Linked DNA regions of Homo sapiens: region 1 is linked to region 2. The links are contacts of gene promoters, found by promoter capture Hi-C in human tissues and cell types (Jung and others, 2019). All regions are on one chromosome and are shown on one strand. Each heading gives the region's core, a stretch centred on a gene start or on the middle of the fragment in contact. The rest is flanking DNA. Distances are from core to core; before and after follow the strand shown.

Evidence for each region. Contacts are between HindIII fragments. The study calls those that stand out against the background at their distance.
Region 1: a contact is called between a fragment that was not itself captured here and the fragment with the promoter of PSMD3 in region 2, in 10 of the 25 tissues and cell types used here (H1 embryonic stem cells, IMR-90 fibroblasts, aorta and 7 more).

Annotation. Positions count from the first base shown.
Region 1 is chr17:40,072,283-40,076,594 of GRCh38, forward strand. It overlaps THRA (thyroid hormone receptor alpha), which reads left to right. Exons shown (of 9, transcript NM_199334.5): 2 at 1,910-2,259. The coding sequence starts at 2,207. Among named protein-coding and RNA genes, the nearest start is that of THRA, 11 kb to the left of the region's middle. RefSeq lists enhancers at 2,502-3,357, 3,481-3,560. The HindIII fragment of the contact is 5,644 bases long and covers 151-4,312 here.
Region 2 is chr17:39,979,422-39,983,304 of GRCh38, forward strand. PSMD3 (proteasome 26S subunit, non-ATPase 3) reads left to right here and starts at 1,386. Exons shown (of 12, transcript NM_002809.4): 1 at 1,386-1,769. The coding sequence starts at 1,550. RefSeq lists enhancers at 1-395, 817-996, 1,217-1,496, 1,297-2,274 and a silencer at 1,677-1,726. The HindIII fragment of the contact is 7,545 bases long and covers 1-3,883 here.

The DNA of each region.
Region 1 (4,312 bases), core at 1,723-4,222, 94 kb after region 2:
CCCGGCCCACAGCAGCCAGTGCTCATTCCTGCACACACTGGTCCTCCTCGGCTGCCCCCAGGACCTGCTCCCCGGGGCTGCCCCTCTCTCAGCATGCCCACTCCTGTGCTTGCCTCCTCCCCTCCCTGGGGGCGCTTGGGCCTCCGGCTGGCGAGTGGATTTTTCCAGCTTCTGTAAACAAGTGGTGGCAGTGTGCCAGGCGGGCAGGAGACAGGCGGGGGCAGCACCACAGCCAGGGTGTGCCAAGCACCGAGGCACAGCCTGGGGGGCAGACGGAGACACCCAGACCCGGAGAGAGAGACATTCAGACACAGACAGACAGACAGACATGCAGGCAGCCTCGCTGGACGTGGAGTCAGAAGATCGTCCTCTATTGTCCAGCCCAACCCCCGTAGCGGCCCTCGCCCCCTGCCCCTCACTGTCTGGCTGAGAGCATTAGGCCCCAGTGCCCAGCCCCTGGGCTTCCCCACCCACTCCTTCTCCTCCCCAACCTCCACCCCTTAGGGCTGGCTACGCCATTATAAATTTATAACAGGAATTTCTCCACAAGCCAAGAAAAACTTGACCTACTTTCTTGATGGCTCCCTGGGCTAAGGCTCCCTGCTCATGCCCCCCCACCCCAGTCTCCTGTCCAGCCCCCAGTGCCCAGTCCTGGTCTGGGGTGGGTATCAGAGGTAGAACGGGCCACTTTTCTGTGCAATGCCCATGCTCTCCACACTACCAGCTTGCCTGGGTGCAGAGGCCCCGTTCTGCTGCTGGCCCTGCCCAATCCCCTGACTTATCTCCCTCTCTCTTCCCACCCTGGCTGCTTATCAGCTCCTGGGGGTGGGGCCAGGGGGCCTAGGGGTGAGGTCTCCTATGCAGCAGCCACGTGACAGAGGTTGAGGTCGTATGTTGGGGAGCTGTACCCTTTGTCCCCCTCCTACCCGCCACACCTGCCTGTGTGCACACAGACAGTAAGCCACAGGTCTGCAGCCCAGGGTCAGAGGTGCAATGCCGTAGGAATGGTGGGCCCGGCTTGGCACTGCCCTGGACTCCAGGTAGCAGAACAAGGCTAGCATTAGGGCCAGGCTGTGAGGCTTATCCCACAGCCACCTGCTTACTAGTTGTGTGAACTTGAGTGAATGACCAAGCTTTCTGAGACTCAGTTTCCTCATCTGTGAAGTTCTCGTGCCCTCTTTGGAGGGTACAGATTCTCTCTCCAGTTAATATGTGTTAGTTTCCTTTCCTTTCCCCCTTGCCATCCTGGTCGATAGCAGCTCAGCTAAACCAACTGAGAAGTCTGGTCCTCTGCCTGGGAAGTGGGATTCGAGACCTTGCGTGGGAAGCTCTGGAGTCCCTGAGGGGCCAGAGTTGGGGATCATAACTTGGCTGGCAGCATGGGAGGTCAGTTCCCTACAGCTTTCAACATCTCTCTCTATTAAGGCACAAAGATGGGCATTCATGCTCACTGCGTGCCGCTCTATGTCCCATCCTTCCTTCACAGATACCCTCCCTGCCTATGCTGAAAACTGCTTGTCTCTGGTCCCCTCTTGCCCCTATAATACAGATGAGTTTCAGGAAAGCTTTTCTAGAGGGGTGGTAACAATAGCTAGTGTTTAATAGTTGCTCATTAAGGGCCAGGCATTTGTCTGAATATGAAGACTGAGACATATTACTTAGTACATGAATGATCTCATTCTCTCCCTCCATTCCTTCCCATGTCTGGGGCTTAGGAGGTGGATCTCCAATCTCGCCTGCTGTACCTGTTATCTAAGGGATCATCCTGGTCCCCTCTCTATGCCTGCCCTTCCTGCCCCCTGCTGTCTTGTTATGGGATCCCAAAGCCCCAAATGTTGCCACCAAAGGGATCCTACCCACCTTCCTACCGTGACACCTTCTTACCCCTGCCTCTCTCTTCTCTCCACAGGGATCTCTGGACAGGACAAGACTCCGAAGCTACTCCCCCAGCACACAGCCCGGGACCCACAAACCCAGCTTGCCCCCAGCCCTCCCACCTGCCACTCCCTGGCCCCTCCCACCGCCCGCCCCCCTTGGGGCGCAGGGCATGGTGTGAAAGGCCAAGTGCTGAGGCGGGTATCATGGGTGCTGTGCCCTAGGGCCTGGGTGGCAGGGGGTGGGTGGCCTGTGGGTGTGCCGGGGGGGCCAGTGTGCCCACCCCAGTCTCTTGGCGTGCTGGAGGGCATCCTGGATGGAATTGAAGTGAATGGAACAGAAGCCAAGCAAGGTGGAGTGTGGGTCAGACCCAGAGGAGAACAGGTAATGGGTTCAGCAACTAGGTCATGCCAACTCCTAAGCAGCAGGCATGGGCACCTGGCTGAGCTCTCCTTTAGGCACCGCCTTTAAGCACCTCTGTGGGATGGACGTGAGGCCAGCAAGCCTTCTGCCTACCTTTGTCTGGCAGATGAAGTCATGTTCAGATGTGACAGGCACTTGGATTGAGAGATGCTCATTTTGAAGCGGGGAGCGATACAGAGCAATTACAGGGAGCACATAAGGGGCTCTTCCCTAGACATTGCTGGGCAGTCTCAGATGCCCCCAACGTCCCTTCCACCATTGCTGCCCTTACCTTGAGCATGTGGGATCCAAACAGCCTTGCCATTTTCTTCCTCTCCCTACCAGCCCATTTACTATCTGACCACAAGTGTGTTGTCCACAAGCTGCGGTTCACGTAATACATTTCAGGGCACATGCACCAGTAACTATTGGTCATAGCCCAAGCTTATATTCGGAATCTATTGGGAGCCCCACAAGCTCTTCCTTGTTCATGGTCAAGGGCGGGCACTGCGATGGGGCTCCTCCCAGAAAGTGCACGCCAACCATGATGGTTTTGCTTCCACATGGGTGAGGTGTCAGCCCTGCACATACACCAAGGGATGGTTACCTGTGATCTGCATTGCCCTTGAGGAGCCCAGAGGGTCTCTGTCTTTTCTATCAGCTCCAAGTGGCACAGAGCTTTGTCCCAGTTGGCACGGTGCCCTGGGAGCTGGGTACAGCCTGTGCCTATGGCCAGGGAGAGGGTGGGGGTGGGGGTGCTCCGGGGAGCAGTGTGGCTGACTGTTGCCTAGGAGATCAGATCCCGAGCCAGGAAGCCAGAGGCCTGGCCAGGCAAAGCCCTAAGGCCCACAACTGGGTCCCTGGAGGGTAGAGGAAGTAGATGGAACTCACAGCTGGGCAGGGCATGGGGTAGCTCCCCTCCCCCAAAGCCTCACCCCAGGAAGGACTCTGAGGACGATCTGGCCTGTCGCTGTGTGGCTGTCACTTGCAGCCCCTGTGTCTCCCAGCTTAGGCTTCTGTGGGTCTGGAAGAGTCTGTGCTTAATGTTTGGAGAAAGGCAGGAATGCCAGTTCCCAGTCTCCTAAGACTGCAACCCCTCCCCCATCACCTTCCCCTCCCCCATGTCTATGCGCCACCTTGTGGCTATCTCTAGGACTACACTCAGAGGCTGTGAGTCTGGTGGTAACTGCTGAAGCCGCTAGCTCAACTGGGGCCTAGGTGGGCTGAGTTCCCCTGCACCCAACCCTCTGGGAGGCGTGAGGGAGACCTGACCTTTCAGCCTCATAGGAAGTAGACCGGAGTAATCCCCACGGGGCGTGGAGCATAGGGTTGTCTGTGACTGTGACCCTGGCCAAGGTCACTGTGTCAGTGTGTTGGGAGCTGCATCCGGCTCCAGGAGGAAGGGGCCTGCAACATGCCACACGCAGGGTGGGTGCGGGAGGTTATACAATCCTTGCATGCATGTAGAGGGCTTATGTAACCTGTGTGCACCGAGGTTATGCAACATGTATGTGGAGAGCCTGGCAACATATATGTGCAGTGGCTGAGGGTTGCTAATAATACGCTGCACAGAGGGGCTCAGTCCCGGCTCTGACTCTAGCTCATGGTGTCACCAGGCACAAGCAGGGTCTCAGTTTGCTGCTCTGTTAAATGGAGGCTGTGCAGAGGGTGTAGTGTTTTCTATTGCTGTGGGTTATTTAGCATGTGTGTATGACCTGGAGCTCAAGCAACACGTGCACACTGGAGGGATGAGGGTGGTTTTATGAGGTGCCTGTGCAGAGTGTTGTGTAACACATGGGCATATCCTAGAGGTTGTATAGCACATTTAAGAATGCCCTGAAAATTTCACAGGTATGTTGGCCCTGGTGCATACTCACCATCCATGGGTTTATAGTGAAGGTTGCATGGTTATTCATCTGTGCCGGTGTTATGTTGCATATGTATGTGTGTGTTCTAAAGGCTACATAGCTTTAAGCATATCCTGAGAATTCTTCCAGCGTATTCGTCATGTACTGAAAGATGAGGATGTCCTGCA
Region 2 (3,883 bases), core at 136-2,635:
ATTCCAATGATGATTCAAAAGTCCTGTTATCCACCCCCCAGCCCTGGAGGGTGAGAGGACAGTTGAGGAGGAACTGGTCAAGGCATGTTCCCTAAAACTAGAGCACATATCTTTCCAGTTAGCGAGTGGCTGTTTAACGCAAGGAACATCCTGCAATCCTATGAAAGAGGATGCAAAAGATATGCAGGATACCCTTTATATATGCAAAGGAGGAGGTCAAAACATATTTCCTGCCTTCTAGGTCCTTACAACAGGGCTAGATTGTCTTGTAGGGTCCGTGAAAGGTCTAAAACTCAGGACTTCCACTTATGGGAGAGAGAAAAGTTTCAAGGTAGGGAGAGAGTTTTTGTTGTGTGTTCTAAGAAATTGGGAGCTATATCCTTCACCTTGTTTCACCTTCCCTGCAGAACCAGTGGGGCAGTCCTTTGAAAAATAAGTGGGTAGGGTTTCTTGTCCAATTTGCTTCCCCTTAGGTACACCACTAAGTAAACCATCATTCTCTCCTTAGGCACACCATTATTCTGTTCCCCATTTCACAATGTCTGTCTGGATGTATAAAAGCCCTCTCAATGGGCTCCCTAAAGCGTCTGCCAGTAGGGGCTCCCACCCTCTTTCCTCAACACTCCCAATCCACCGCAGCCCAGAGCACAGTGTCTGCTTATCTAACCATCTGACTCCCCCGTATACTACATTCTTGAGCTGTTTTTCACCCCCCTATTTGCTAACCGTGGGCCGTACATAGGGTGGACCCCTATATTTTGTTAAACTGGAGTGATTCTACGCAAATGCACGCTCCTACCTATCGGCACTCCCAGCCTGCAGAAATTGTATGCCTTATGTTCAGCACTAAACTCAAATCTAACCAAGGAAGTCCGGATCCCATAGGGTTCTTCCTACTCTCCAGTTCGGTTTATTTTAAGGCCAACAGCCCTAGCTTCACGTCCCTCCTTCACAGCCTTCTTTCCTTCCCTCCTGCCGGATGCGCCCGGCAGCCGTTGAGCACAAGCCCAGCGGATCTGGAAGGAGACCCCGCCGCGACCGGGGAAAATTGAGCGAACTTGGGCGCAAAACCCGCCCGGCAACTCGTGACGTCATCTCGTCCCGCGCTCGGATAGGCTGTACCCACTCCACGCTGGTTGAGGCGCTCTTAAAGTCCTTTGTAACCCAGATTGGAGCCTGAGGGGACCTCTCGTGGACGCCCACAGAAATGCACTCGAGAGGAACATAAAAGCATCACACTTAAGCGCTCGAAAGAAAGCCCCACGAACCCATAAAGGCTCCTCCCCGCTCCTTCCTCGAAGCTCCTCCTTCATCCTGCACCTCGGCTGTGGATTTATTTCCCCTTTGTTGACTCGGCCATCGGCCTGCCGGGCCTGGCGTTTCCCAGAAGGCCCAGCGCCGGGAAGGGGTTTGCAGCTGCTCCGTCATCGTGCGGCCCGACGCTATCTCGCGCTCGTGTGCAGGCCCGGCTCGGCTCCTGGTCCCCGGTGCGAGGGTTAACGCGAGGCCCCGGCCTCGGTCCCCGGACTAGGCCGTGACCCCGGGTGCCATGAAGCAGGAGGGCTCGGCGCGGCGCCGCGGCGCGGACAAGGCGAAACCGCCGCCCGGCGGAGGAGAACAAGAACCCCCACCGCCGCCGGCCCCCCAGGATGTGGAGATGAAAGAGGAGGCAGCGACGGGTGGCGGGTCGACGGGGGAGGCAGACGGCAAGACGGCGGCGGCAGCGGCTGAGCACTCCCAGCGAGAGCTGGACACAGTCACCTTGGAGGGTACGGCAGCCCAGGCCGGGAACGTGCCGCGATCGCGGGTGACAGCGACCCCTGTGATTTGGCTTCTTGCTGGGAAGCCACAGCAGCCTCCACCACCCTCAGTTCTTTGGGATCACCCCCAGATACCTGCTCCCACTGCCCCGACACTCCCGACTCCAGGCCCAATGACTGAACCTTCTCTCCAGGCTGGGAACCACTCCCCTCCCATCCCCTCCATCCCCATATCTGGGGTTGCATCTATATCTAGGTCCCAGTGGGCCTGGGGACTCCCTCTTTTAAGTCCTCCCCTCTGACCTATTCCGTTTATATCCCACCCGACTGATTTTAGCGCCTCCAATATATGACTGATTGTTCCCGCTGGAAACCAGTGTTTGTGTCTGTGTGTAAACAGGGCCAGGATGACCTAGAATATTGACTCCTGAGTTTTAAAACTGTACAGCAGATTTTTGTTGTCCTAGCTGCCTTTAGCACACTCCCCCGAATGAACCATTTCGACCTAGTATCTTGTTTCCTACTTCTCTAACTGAAGTGTCCCAACAGTCCCCTTGCTGTCTCCTCCCTTCAGGTCCTTACTGCCCCTCTGTTTCTAAAGGGTTTAAGTACATACACACTTAAAACTTTTCGGGTGTCATCTTTGTTTGGTTTTGTAATACTCAACCTTTGGCCTAAACTCCTATATACCGGTGTCTCCTATTTCTTTTCTCCGAGGTTCCTGTTTCGAGTGTCTGTAGTCCTCTTGTTCCTCCAAGTTCATGTTTTACTTTTCCCACTTACAGCGTCCTGTTTCCATTTGAAGTGGGCAAAGTGAGAGCTTCCCACTGTGATCCTGGTGCCATTTTCCTGGTTCTGGATCAAGTGGGACCAGACTACTTACTAGGTTTTCTTTTCACTAAAATGCGTGAGAAACTAGCTCAAAAACATTGAGATAAGCAAAGTTATCCTCCTAGGTGGTGCTTTTGAGGATGTGATGGTGTTGACTACATCAGCTCTTACTGTAAAGTTGAGCAACAGGATCGATATTTAATAGAGATCCTTTTACCTAAAGTAGTGGCAGCAATGTCAAAGGTGCCACTCAGCATTGCCTACTGGGTGTGTTTATTACAGGCACTTCATTTTCTTCTTGTAAAGTAATTCATATTCATTGCAGAAATTGTGGAATGTATGAGAAGTTAAAAGCAGGGGATAAAAAACATGGTTAACATTTTTTCTTGTGAATTTTTGAGCTGTTCTCCTATAATTGAGAGCAAGTTATGTATACAGTTTGTATCAAGGCATAACTAAATATAAATTTTGAATTTTATGTGTTTTCATTAACATTCGTAAACATAATCAGCATTCAATTTATTCCAGAAACATTTATTGAATACCCAATATAATGGTTAAGAGTACAAGTTCTGGAATTAGTTCCCTCATCTGTATAAATACAAGTAATAGTACAGTACTTTATTGGGTTGTTGTGAACATTAAAATGCTTAAAACTGTGCCTAGCACATAAATATCAGCTGTTATTATTTATATCATTAGTGTGGCCCAGATACCCTGTGCTAATCGGTGAATATACAGAAGTGCCTAAGAAACTACTCATTGATTGCATTCCCTTATTGCTTTGCATTTAAACTGTTTCTAGTTTCTTGCTATCATAAATAGCTTTGAAGCAATCATCTTTGTGCCCAACTTAAAAAATCTACTTTTCTAATTATTTCTTCAGTACAGATTCCCACCAAAACCTATATGCCTGAGTTTAAAAGGCTGAACATTTTAAAGGTTTTTGATAGTTATTGTCCAGAAAAACTGTGCTGATTTACATTATACCAGGAGAAATGTAGTTTTCACTGTACTCTATAATTTTTTTTTTTTTTTGAGACGGAGTCTCGCTCTGTTGCCCAGGCTGGAGTGCAATGGCGCGATCTCGGCTCACTGCAACCTCTGCCTCCCAAGTTCAAGCGATTCTCCTGCCTCAGCTTCCCGAGTAGCTGGGATTACGGTCACCCACCACCACGCCCGGCTAATTTTTTTATTTTTAGTAGAGACTGGGTTTCACCATGTTGGCCAGGCTGGTCTCCAACTGCTACCCTTAATGATCCGCCCTCCTCAGCCTCCCAAAGTACTGGGAT